Regions from separate parts of the Homo sapiens genome. Here region 1 is linked to region 2. The links are contacts of gene promoters, found by promoter capture Hi-C in blood cells and fetal thymus (Javierre and others, 2016). All regions are on one chromosome and are shown on one strand. Each heading gives the region's core, a stretch centred on a gene start or on the middle of the fragment in contact. The rest is flanking DNA. Distances are from core to core; before and after follow the strand shown. Region 1 overlaps TNS3 (tensin 3). Region 2 holds the start of PKD1L1-AS1 (PKD1L1 antisense RNA 1).

What was found. Contacts are between HindIII fragments. The CHiCAGO score rates a contact against its expected background, and 5 or more counts as called.
Region 1: a contact is called between a fragment that was not itself captured here and the fragment with the promoter of PKD1L1-AS1 in region 2, in 9 of 17 cell types (naive B cells, total B cells, M2 macrophages and 6 more). The highest score is 25.6, in naive B cells.

The regions. Positions count from the first base shown.
Region 1 is chr7:47,485,376-47,491,591 of GRCh38, reverse strand. The region is part of intron 3 of TNS3 (tensin 3); the gene reads left to right. Among named protein-coding and RNA genes, the nearest start is that of SNORD151, 24 kb to the right of the region's middle. RefSeq lists an enhancer at 2,532-3,078. The HindIII fragment of the contact is 1,892 bases long and covers 363-2,254 here.
Region 2 is chr7:47,793,105-47,799,435 of GRCh38, reverse strand. PKD1L1-AS1 (PKD1L1 antisense RNA 1) reads right to left here and starts at 4,145. Exons shown (of 4, transcript NR_161269.1): 1 at 3,993-4,145. PKD1L1 (polycystin 1 like 1, transient receptor potential channel interacting) reads left to right here. Exons shown (of 57, transcript NM_138295.5): 55 at 3,286-3,447. The HindIII fragment of the contact is 8,231 bases long and covers 2,082-6,331 here.

The DNA.
Region 1 (6,216 bases), core at 59-2,558, 310 kb after region 2:
TGAGATGGCCTTCGGTAACTATGCTGCTGTCTTTGAAAGGCCGTGGGGTCCCCTTTCACCCTCACTCCAATCTGACAGTGTATATTTGATATAGTCCCACTGTCAAGACTTTCCTATGAGCTTGAGGTTCACATCCACCCCGCGAGGTCGTATTATCCCTATGTCACAGATGAGGAGGAAAATTGAGTTCACAGAGGACAGTCTCCGTAAATTCATCAGAGCCAGCTGGGAGAAGCAGAGGGCTTGCCCTAATTTCAGTCTCTGGATGCAAAGACAGAGCTTTTTCGGTTCTGTCCAGTCACTCTGGGGCTTGAAACAGTATATATATGGTTTAAAATACATATTTGTTTAAAACCGAAGCTTACATTCAAGAACACCACATACCGTGCATGTTCAGCCTGATGCATTTTTTGGTGAATCGCAGCGTAGATGGACGAGAGGCTGCCCCTCTGCCTCTCTGCCCACTGGCTAGTGTCCTGGGTCATGTCTGCCCGCCTCGTGCTGAAGCCACAGCCGCGCTCTGTCGGCCTCTTGCCCCCACCATCGGCGGCTGAAATCTCCTCATCTGTGACAGCTCATGGCCTCATTGCTGCTGTTGGCTTTTTCAAGTGCTGATTTTGAGCCCCTTTCCTCTACTTCCCGACACAGAGCACTGAAGGATGGCATTCTGGTGCCCAACACACTCGTCTGGGCATGCTGGGGCTGTGCGCATTGCTGGGCACACTATTTCTGTTCTCTGTTGTTGCCTAACAAATCCCCTGTACACTCAGTGGCTGAAACCAACAAGCTGTGATGGATTCGTGAGCTGGCTGGGCAGTGCTTGCTTCATGTGGTGCTGACAGGGGGACTGGGTGGCCAGAAGGTCACAAACGCCCTCATGCCCATTTCCAACGATTGGCACTGGGCACCTCGGTGCCCCCTTGTAGGTGTCTCCATGCGGCTGTTCAGGCTTCCCTTCATTATGGGGGCTGGGCCCAAGAATGGGATGCTCCAGGCGAAGGCGGCAACTGCAGCTGTCTAAGGCCAGGCTTCGGAGTTCTGCCATATTCCACCACTCACAGCAGGCCACAGGGCAAACCCAGGACGAGCCCAGACTCAAGAGGAACAGGGACAGACTCTACCTCTTGATGGGGGAATGGCAGAGTTCCTTTACAGAAGACCCTGTGTGATGCCACCGTCTTTGAAAACACAACCTACTAAACTTATTCAGGCAATAGCATGCAGGGATGTTATTGTAGAGGTAATCATCAGTCTCTTCTGATGAATTAAAATGTAAATTACTCACAAATGTCAGTGTCAGTACTTTATTACTTTATTATTAATTATAGGTGGCCGGTGAGAATTATAGGCTGATCAGATGTAGCTGGTGAGGAATGCATGAGTTGGGACCTGGATTTTCCTTGTGGAAATGGATCCAGTAATGTGGATGCAGTTAAATCTTGGTCCTTGGCATTATAATGCTCTAATAAAAAGACGGTTCATCAACTCAATACTACCTTTTAATCTTTCTGCAATTAGGTTGGATTTATGATTTATGAGTTTTTCTTCTTGCTTTTTTTGCAAGCCATTAGCATTTTATCAATCACCAGATGTCCTCTTTCTCTTTTTGAAAAGATAAGGCGTAGGACTGTGGTAAGTGTTGGCCTTCAGGGGTCTGTAGACCCTGATTCTGCCTCTGCGGGCCTCGGCTGCACCATGAGATGCTTGGCCTCCCTGCTCAGCCCTGGTCTTGTAAGACAGACTCACTGCAGGAAGGCGTTTGGGCCCCCGAGCGATCCTGTGCTGTGCCCTTTGCTGGGACTTGTGTATACAGCATGCAAGTGATCCTGAAAGTGCTTTTCAGCCACTTCGAGAATCCCCTGGACATTGTTCCAACAATAGGTTCACATTTGATTTCTGATCTGAGACAAATAATGGTGACATAATGGATACAGGATACTATGCTTTTGCTTTAAATCTATTATATTCCCTACCAGTGGTAACTTGTTTGCCTGAGGCCAGCGAAGGCCTGGCCCTGCCTTGTGGGCCATGGGCCTCAACTGGGTAAAGGTAGCCAATGTTAAACAGCTACACAGCCTAAGTAAAGAATGAAAAAGAAGGTTCCAGTAGGTTCAGCTAAGCCCATCTGGGATAGGGGCACTACTCTTTTGTCTAAAAATTATTAGATTCCATAGAGTTGGATTGAAAGGGGAAACTGAGGCCCCTAGAGGTGAGAAGAGCCGAGACCAAGCCAAGACCAAGGACTGGGAAAGCTTGAGCCTTTCTTTTTTCATTTTACTGTGCCACAGACATGATCTTCACTAGCTGCTTGTTAACTGTAAGGAAAAATATAATGACCTGATTCTGGGAATTTTCCTTCTCTTTCTCTTCCGCTCCTGTCCCGGTTCTCAGCCCGCAGGCTGAGAAGGTTTAATTGCGTCTGCCGGGCGGGTGTTTTCTCATGGGGATTAGAGCAGGCTAAATTGGGCTTTGACGCTTAGTGGGATAACAGAGCTTCCTGAGGAATGTGAACCTAATTAGGGATTCCAGGGTCAAGCCTGACAAAGGAGACACAGAAGCAAAGTTAGGGTGAGCTCTTGAAGGAAGCAGAGAAAGTTAATAAAGTCTCGAATGTCCTCATTTTGTACTGCCATTCTTTGTATAGATCTGCTGTTGTTTGCAGGCTTGTGTTGAAAATCTGACCCTGGGCCTCTCTTCAACCCTCTACCTAGCCCCCTGTCCCCAGGCACCATTGGAAAAGCAGCCTTGAATGATGAGTAAGGCCACCTTCGGCATGTCAGGAGCCCCCGGCCTCACCTGGGGGACCCAGCTCTTGTTGGTGTGCCCAGAACGTTCTGTGTCGACCTGACGTCTCCACCCGTCCTGTCAGACCTTTGATTGTTAGTGCTGGGGGGTTGCATTTTGTTTCCCCAAATTCAAATGTTGAAGTCCAAATCCCCAGGACCCCAGAGTATGGCAGGATTTGGAGATAAGGTCTTTAAAGAGGTAATTAGGTTGAAATAGGGTCATTAGGATGGGCCTAATCCAGTATGACTGGTGTCCTTAGAAAGACTGGGACACAGACACACACAAGGAATGGCCACGTGAGGACACGGGGAGAAGGTGGCCATCTGCAGGCCCGGGAGAGAGGCCTCAGGAGGAACCACCCTGCCCACATCTTCATCTCAGCCTCCTAGCCTCCAGGACTATGGGAGGATAAACGGCTGTGGTGTCAGCTGCCCATTCTGTGGTATGTTGTTACAACAGCCGCCCCTTACCCGAGCTAAGACTGTTGCTTATTTAAGCAGATAAACACTTGGGTCAGTGTCAGCACTGGGAATGAGGGGACTTTCCTTCTGTGATTATTCTCCTTACCCTGCCCTTGTAATAAATGATAATAATGGTAATATAAACACATGAACAATGCATCCTTTTTCAATCTTAACTAATGGGTGAATTAAAGATCTTGCTAGTTTATTGATCAGTAACATACAATGTAAGAAGTCAAAGCTGTGGTATAATAGAAGTGGCCCTTCGTAAAAGCTCCACCCTCCTTGCAACCAGGCTGCTACTCCGTGTAGAGATTATAGAAGAGTCCCAACCCCCAATTATATCGTAAGGTCCTGGTGGTCAGCAAATATTTGGCGTCCGTATCTGTTTTTCCCTGGCTAGTTCAGGGCCTCAGAGGTAGGTTACCTCTGACTGTTTTTATGACTTAGGAAAGAAAGTACTGCCATCTTGGCGCCATCACGAAGTTTCTTTAAAAAGAATTGTTTTTGTAAAGATAAAATAAAAGTAAACTTCATTTCTGAGTCTTTGCAACTTATCTTAGAGTTAAAACTATTATGATTAAAGTAATTTTATGTATGATAGAACTTGTGCATAAGGTGATGTCTCTGTACTTGGCTTAACTCAGTGAATTGCTTTCTCCCTTGTCTGCAAGGTTTGGCAAGGTCAGTGGCTGGCCCGTTTGTCTCTACTCAGTTTCTACTTGTTTTGCACCTGAATGCTGTCCCACGGATTTGCATTCGGTGTTGTGTGGTGTGTGTGCATTTGTGGAACGCCCGTTTCATTGCTGTGGGTTGGTATTGTTGAGCTGATTCTCCCCTCCAGAATCCTGACATGAACAAGGTTTGCCCAGGCCTGCTTGATACCAGAGTAGAGTAGAGACTTCACCTGTGGGCAGAATGACCTGGAGAACAAGCAGGAAGAAACGATTAGAGGAGCCAAGCCTCCAGGCTTTCCCTGTAGCTGCCGGGTGTGTAAAAGCATGCTTGACACTTGAGGGTGCTCGCTTCAGTTCTTTTTTTTTTTTCTTTTGAGACGGAGTCTTGCTCTGTCGCCCAGGCTGGAGTGCAGTGGCACGATCCCAGCTCACTGCAACCTCCCAGGTTCAAGCAATTCTCCTGTCTCAGCCTCCTGAGTAGCTGGGATTACAGGCACGTGCCGCCACGCCCTGCTAAGTTTTGTATTTTTAGTAGAGACGGGGTTTTGCCATGTTGACCAGGTTGGTCTCGAGCTCCTGACCTCAGGTGATCCGCCCATCTGGGCCTCCCAAAGTGCTGGGATTATAGGTTTGAGCTACTGCGCCCGGCCTCTCTTCAGTCCTTACTTCATGTTTCTGTGAGGTTCTAGGAAGCTGATTCACGTGACCCACCATGACTGGAATTTTTGATGATTTGGAAAAGATAGAATTGAAATTTACATTTATTCTCTTTATACAGAATATGCATGTTTATACAGAATATGTAGTGCATCAGCTATACCCACACGGCTTTAGAGAAACTGATGGAAAAATGTCACTTTCTATATGGCTGTTTACAAAGTGAAATTTAATAAGAAACAACAATAAAAGCTGAGTTTGGAGTTTTATTGTGTTCATCAAAAGGAAAACAATGTCGGTCAAGCACGAGGAGAACTGAGTTGTCCTTTATTTCTCCCAGGACTTGGATCTCCCAGAAGTAAGCAGAGAGGGATTGGTTCAGGTTTGAAGAGTTGATCTCACTCCTTACTGAGGAAGATCTGCACCCGAGGCCCTGTGTCTGTTAGCACTGGGGGTAATGGTGGCCGGGCCAGTGCACCTTGGATGAAAGCACTTTCTAAGGCAGAATGTACTTGTTAGCTGAAGTGCTTTCATTCACCTTGGGGGATGGAACTGCAGGGCTAAGCTTTGTTGTGTGTGCACACACACAAACACACAGAGACACATACAGGTATACACTCACACACGGAGACACACACAGACACGCTCTCACATCAATACACACACATGAGGCATAGGCATACATAGAAACACACACAGACACACTTACAAAACTCAGTTTCACACATGCACGTTCATACATTCTCACAAGCACACACGCTCACACCCCCTACACTTTTACACTCCCATGCACATAACTACTGACTCACCCACTCATATGCAAACTCACAACACTCTCAAACTTACACACATTCACACAAAAGAATATATTTGCAGATATCCACAGTAAAATATACCTAGTCAAACACAGACACCACCACATGTAGTCACTCACACACACACACTCACCCACACACCCACACTCACACACCTGCACTCACCCCCACACACACTCACCTCCACACACCCACACTCACACACCCACACTCACCCACATTCACACACCCACACTCACACTCATCCACACACACATACGCTCACCCACACACTCACATTCCCAAGGACACAGTCATGACTTGGTGGCAAGCACTTGTCCCTCTGCCCCTCTGTCCTGTGGACCTGCTGGCTTGGGGACAAGGTTATTGATGCCAGTGTACCCAGGCACCCACGTAGCCAGGTGTGGGGCAGGCACAGCAGTGTTTGTTTGTGGTTTCCTTGGGAACAGTAGATTAGGATCCCAGGATAGCTGAAAGAAGGCAATAAAGAGGCTCCCAAACAGGCTTCTCAGAGGGGCCCTCGCCTCCACCATGGGAGGGACGGATCCCGGGGATGCCACAGCCCATGGCTTTTGGCCCACAGCCCATGACCCACTGCCTTCTCTCCAGCCTTCTGTAGCTGCTAACGGGAGCTGCTCTGCCCCCTTCCTTGTCTCACTGTTGTCACCTCTTGTCACCCTAATCCCTGAGGGAGCTGCTCATTATGAGAGAGGGTGCAGCTCCTATCAGGAGAGGAGCCTGGAGCTGGGGCACCAGCTGGAGTCATCTCTGGGAGAGTTCCCGTGGCTGGCGCTGGCCCTCTCTGAGACGCAGCTTCTC
Region 2 (6,331 bases), core at 2,896-5,395:
TAAGTGGATAAAAATTCTCTGCAGTCCTTAAAAGTCTACTGGTATTCTAGTTTAGTAGCTAGAGGGAAACTAAAAGTGATTGCTCATGTTCACACCTTGACAACACTCAGGCCCGAGTCCTTTGCTTTTATCAATGATCCTAGCTCCCTACTCTTGCTCATCCATGAATGCATAAATCCATCGATCACCCATCCACACACCTACTCACCAAACTAGTTACCTGTCCACCTATCCACCCACCCATCCATCCATCAATCCACTCATTTGTTCATTCATGCACTCACTCATTCAACAAAAAACTAAAGAATGCCCATTATATTCAGGCAATGGCGAAACAAAGATAATAACTGCTTCCTGCCTCAGGGAGCTCACAGTCCATAGGGGAAGACTGGCATATACAAATAATTGTGGCAATTTTTATATTTTGAATACAGTTTTTAAATTGGATATGTGATTTGTAAATCTGTAGCTTCTCCTTTTATTCTCTTAACAGCATCTCTACAGAGCAGAAGTTGTAAATTTTGATAAAGGCCAGTTTTTCAATGTTTTCTTTTATGGATTTTGCTGTTGGTGTCCTGGCTCAAATGAATTGCCAAACCCAAGGTCACATATTTTCTCCTATTATTTTCTTCTAGAATTTTTTTTGTTTCTTTGTTTTTGGTTTTTTTGTTTTTTTTTTTTGAGACAGAGTCTCACTCTGTCGCCCAGGCTGGAGTGCAGTGGCGTGATCTCAGATCACTGCAACCTCTGTCTCCCAGGTTCAAGTGATTCTCCTGCCTCAGTCTCCTGAGTAGCTGGGATTACAGGCGTGTGCCACCACACCCAGCTAATTTTGTATTTTTAGTAGAGACAGGGTTTCGTCATGTTGGTAAGGCTGGTCTCGAACTCCTGACCTCGTGATCCTCCCGCCTCAGCCTCCCAAAGTGCTGGGATTACAGACGTGAGCCACTGCACGTGGCCTTTCTTCTAGAATTTTTATAGTTCTATGTTTTACATTTAGGTTAATCATCTGTTTTAAGCTAATTTTAATGTAAGATGTGAGGTATGGAACAGAGTTCCTGTTTTTTATAAATGAATATCCAATTTTTCCAGCACAATTTTTTTGAAGAATATTTACTCCATTGAATTGGCTTTACAACTTTGTCAAAAAGCAATTGACTGTATCTGTGTGGATCTATATCTGGGTTCTCTATTCTACTCCATTGATCTTTCCTTTAGCCAATCCCATGAGGTCTTTTTCACTCTGTGGCAAATCTTAAAGTAGCATGGATGAGTCCTCCAGCTTTGTTCTGTTTTGACTGTAGGTGTTCTAGCTCTTTTGCCTTTCAATATGTTTTAGAATCATCTTGTTACTATCTTTTTAAAAAATCATGTTGGTGTTTTGATTGAACTTGCTGTGGAATTATAAATCAAATTTGGGGGGAATTGGCATCCTAATAATATTAAGCTTTTTTGATCCTAGAATTCTGTATTTCTCTCCATTTATTTAGATACTCTTTGATTTTTTTCATCACTGTTTTATAGTTCTCAGCATACAGATCCTACACAATGATAGGCAATTTTAAAGCCTAACTAGAAGTGTCCTCAAAGAGCAAGAAACTTAGATCAGAGACTCATTTATTCTTCCTAGGGAGACCAGGAAATCTTCATACAACAGGAGAGTGAGCCTTGATGAGCAGTTCCACTCATGGTGATGACTGCTGAGAGCAGCATTTTAGACAGGGGGCATGCAGGGAGGGCCATGCTGGAGTTCTGGGTCAAGTGGGCATTATGTTGAAAAGGATGGTTGGAGTCAGGAATGGAGGGCCTTGAATGTCGTGCTTAGGCACCTGGATGCTATCTTCTGAGACAGGCAGGCAATATTGCATTGAGGTCTCTGGGTGGAAGAGTCAGGTCTTGCTGTCTGCCATGGGTGTGTTGCTGGTAAATCCAGGAGGCCTCAGACCTACACACCAATGGCCTACCCTTTCAGGCTCCTGAGCATCTTTGCAGAGTTCTGAAATTTTGTGAGGGGTTCGAGGGATTTGGGGACCAATCAAGAACAAACATATGACCACAAGAGATGATAACACACACAAGCTTTATCTGGGTAATGTTTTGAAGTGTTTCCATGTGGGGGAACTCCCTCATACTTCATGCTATGAAACTGTCCACAGGTTTACAGCGTAGGGGCCAAGAACCATCCAAAAAGGAAGAAGAGCAAGGGCGATCTCAGGGGAGAGGGGCAGCAGAGAGAGAGCTTACCCCTTAGACGATGCTGCTTAGCAGCATGGAGGGGAGGCTCTGGGTCAGAAAGCTCCTGAAGCCAGCAGCAGCTTGGGGCCTTATAACATTATCAGTGGGTAACAGCTGTCCCCTGAGGTTTTGCAGGGTGTGTAAAGCTGACAGGCTCTAAATGGCTAAAATGTTTGTTTGGGTGTTTTTTTTTTTTTTTTTGAGACGGAGTCTTGCTCTGTCGCCCAGGCTGGAGTGCAGTGGCGCAATCTCTGCTCACTGCAAGCTCCGCCTCCCGGATTCACGCCATTCTTCTGCCTCAGCCTCCCGAGTAGCTGGGACTACAGGTGCCCACCACCACACCCAGCTAATTTTTTTTTTTTTTTTTTTTGTAATTTAGGAGAGACAGGGTTTCACCATGTTAGCCAGGATGGTTTCAATCTCCTGACCTCATGATCCGCCTGCCTTGGCCTCCCAAAGTGCTGGGATTACAGGCATGAGCCACTGCGCCCAGCCCTGTTTGGGTTATTTTTTAAACAATTGGATGTGTAAAAATTCGAGTTTGTTACCAGTAGGCTTTTGAGCTAACAGCTTACAGCCTGCAGTGAAGAAATAAACCACCTGGAGGCTTATAGAGCACATGTTGAGGGCACAACAACTTGCTGAGCCCAAGACCCTTTCTGGTCTCCCAGGCACAGGCACAGGCCTCTCTCCTGAGGCTCACCCACAGCTCAGAATGGTTCACCAGGGGACACTGAAACTGAGACACAGACTTTACATATGGGCATGCACATCGCGTTGATAATCTCAGTCTCCAAAGTTAGATACTGAAAACAACCTTTATAATACAATGAATTTCCATTGCTGAGATCATCTTACTGCCATTTAGTTCAATTCAGGAGAGGTATTTTCCTGATTTTGCTTTTTTTCACCAAGAAATCACTATTTTACCAAAAGCTCGTAAAGTAGCATCATCAGATATAATCTCCATTGCATAGTTTATCACGTTAACAAAGCTCTTTATTTAGGCTGCTAACATGAAATTTGTCTTTATTTTTTTCTTTTTCCTAGCTGAGAGGTTTTCTCATGACTTTACCCCAAAAAAGAAAATCTTTTCAAAGTAAATCTTTTGTGAGACTTAAAGATGTCACTGCTTATATGTGGGAAAAGGTCCTCACCTTTCTGAGACTGGAAACACCAAAGTTGGAAGAGGCTGAGATGGTTGAGAATCACGTAAGCTGTGAGATCTTGGATTACTGAGCATGATAGCACACACTCAAGATGATGGTTTCATTGCAGAATTTTGCTTTCAGTTATCAAAGCATGAGTATGTTTCCATGCCAAATCTCCTTGCAAAGCCACAAAATTAGTCTCAATCATAGTGGAACTCATGGAATTTTCCCGTGCAATTCTAAAACACTTTACAGATTACCAAGCACATTCTCCTGCCTTAACTCACTATATCCTTATAGTGACCTGTACAGTTGGAAAGACAGAGTTTATGGTCTTCCCCAGGACACAGACATGCTGTATTCTGTCCCCTGAGTTAGTCATTTGCTTTTGGTGCCTGCTATCAAACCCAAACTTCTATCCAAAACATAGAGCCTTAGGTGCATTACTTGAGTTCAGTCACCCCAGACATGCATGTAAACAAATCAAACCAGGCGTTTGCACACTGAATACTCACTTTCTTCATGGCTGATATATTAGTTTGTTTTCATACTGCTGATAAAGACATACCCAAAACTGGGAACAAAAAGAAGTTTAATTGGACTTACATTTCCACATGACTTGGGAGGCCTCAGGTTCATGGTGGGAGGTGAAAGGCACTTCTTACATGGTGGTGGCAAGAGAAAAATGATCCAGATGCAAAAGTGGAAACCCATTATAAATGATCAGATCTTGTGAGACTTCTTCACTATCACAAGAATAGCATGAGAAAGACCAGCCCCTATGATTCAATTACCTCCCACTAGGTCCCTCCCACAACATGTGGGAATTCTGGGAGATATAATTCTAGTTGAGATTTGAATAGGGACACAGCCAAACAATATCATTCTGCTCCTGGCCCCCTCCAAATCTCATGTCCTCACATTTCAAAACCAATTATGCCTTCCCAAAAGTCCCCCAAAGTCTTAACTCATTTTAGCATTAACCCAAAAGTCCACAGTCCAAAGTGTCATCTGAGACAAGGCAAGTCCCTTCCACCTATGAGCCTGTAAAATAAAAAATAAGTTAGTTACTTCCTAGATACAATGGGGGTACAGGGATTGGGTAAATACAACTGTTCCAAATGGGAGAAATTGGCCAAAACCAAGGGGTTACAGGCCCCATACCAGTCCAAAATCCAACAGGTCAATCAAATTTTAAAGCTCCAAAATGATCTCCTTTGATTCCAGGGCTCACATGTAGGTGATGCTGATGCCAGAGGTGGGTTCCCATGGTCTTGGGCAGCTCTGCCCCTGTAGCTTTGCAGGGTACAGCCTCCTTCCTGGCTGCTTTCATGGGCTGGCATTGAGTGTCTGTGGCTTTTCCAGGTGCACAGTGCAAGTTGTCAGAGGATCCACCATTCTGGAGTCTGGAGGATGGTGGCCCTCTTCTCACAGCTCCACTAGGTCCCTTCCACACTGCCCTAGCAGTTCTCCATAAGGGCCCCGCCCCTGCAGAAAACTTTTGCCTGGGTATCCAGGCATTTCCATACATCTTCTGAAATCTAGGCTGAGGTTCCTAAACCTCAATTCTTGACTTCTGTGCACCCATAGGCTCAATACCACATGGAAGCTGCCAAGGCTTGGGGGTTCCACTCTCTGAAGCCCCAGCCCAAGTTGTACAATGGCCCCTTTCGGCCATGGCTGGAGCAACTGGGACACAGGGCACCAAGTCTCTAGGCTGCACACAGCACGGGGAACCTGGGCCCAGTCCACTAAACCACTTATTCCTCCTTGGCATCCAGGCCTATGATGGGAGAGGCTGCTGTGAAGGTCTCTGACATGACTTGGCGACATTTTCCCCATGGCCTTGGGGATTAACATTAGGCTGCTTGCTACTTATGCAAATTTCTGCAGCTGGCTTGAACTTCTCCCCAGAAAATGAGTTTTTCTTTTCCACTGCATTGTCAGGCTGCAAATTTCTTTAACTTTTATGTTCCATTTCCCATTTAAAACGGAATGCTTTTAACAGCACCCAAGTCACCTTTTGAATGCTTTGCTGCTTAGAAATTTCTTCTGCCAGATACCCTAAAAATCATCTCTCTCAAGTTCTAAGTTCCACAAATCTCTAGGGTGGGGCAAAATGCTGCCAGTCTCTTGCTAAAACATAACAGGAGTCACCTTTGCTCCAGTTCCCAACAAGTTCCTTATCTCCATCTGAGACCACCTCAGCCTGGACTTTATTTTTCATATCACTATCAGCATTTTTGTCAGAGTCATTCCACAAGTCTCTAGGAGGTTCCAAACTTTCCCACATTTTCCTGTCTTCTTCTGAGCCCTCCAAACTGTTCCAACCTCTGCCTGTTATCAAGTTCCAAAGTCACTTTCACATTTTTGGGTATCTTTTCAGCAACACCCCACTCTACTGGTACCAATTTACTGTTTTAGTTCATTTTCAAGCTGCTGATAAAGATATAACTGAAACTGGGGACAAAAAGATATTTAATTGGACTTACAGTTCCACATGGCTGGGGAGGCCTCAGAATCATGGCGAGAGGTGAAAGGCACATCTTACGTGGCAGTGGCAAGAGAAAAATGAGCAAGATGCAAAAGCGGAAACACCTGATAAGCCATCAGATCTCATGAGATCTTATTCACTATCACAAGAATAGCACGGGAAAGACCAGCCCCCATGATTCAATTACCTCCCCCCAGGTCCCTCCCACAACACAGGAATTCTGGGAGATACAATTCAAGTTGAGATTTGAATGGGGACACAACCAAACCATATCAGGTGATATTTAAGCATCATCCAGTAAGGTTCTGAAGGCAGTCATATGTAATCACGGTACTGTACATTTTGATAGGGCTTTATTCTCTGTCATGTGCTTCCCCATCCATTATTGCCTTATTTTTTTAATAGTGCTCAATAAAGATTTATTAATCGAAGGGATGAAAGAATGACCTTA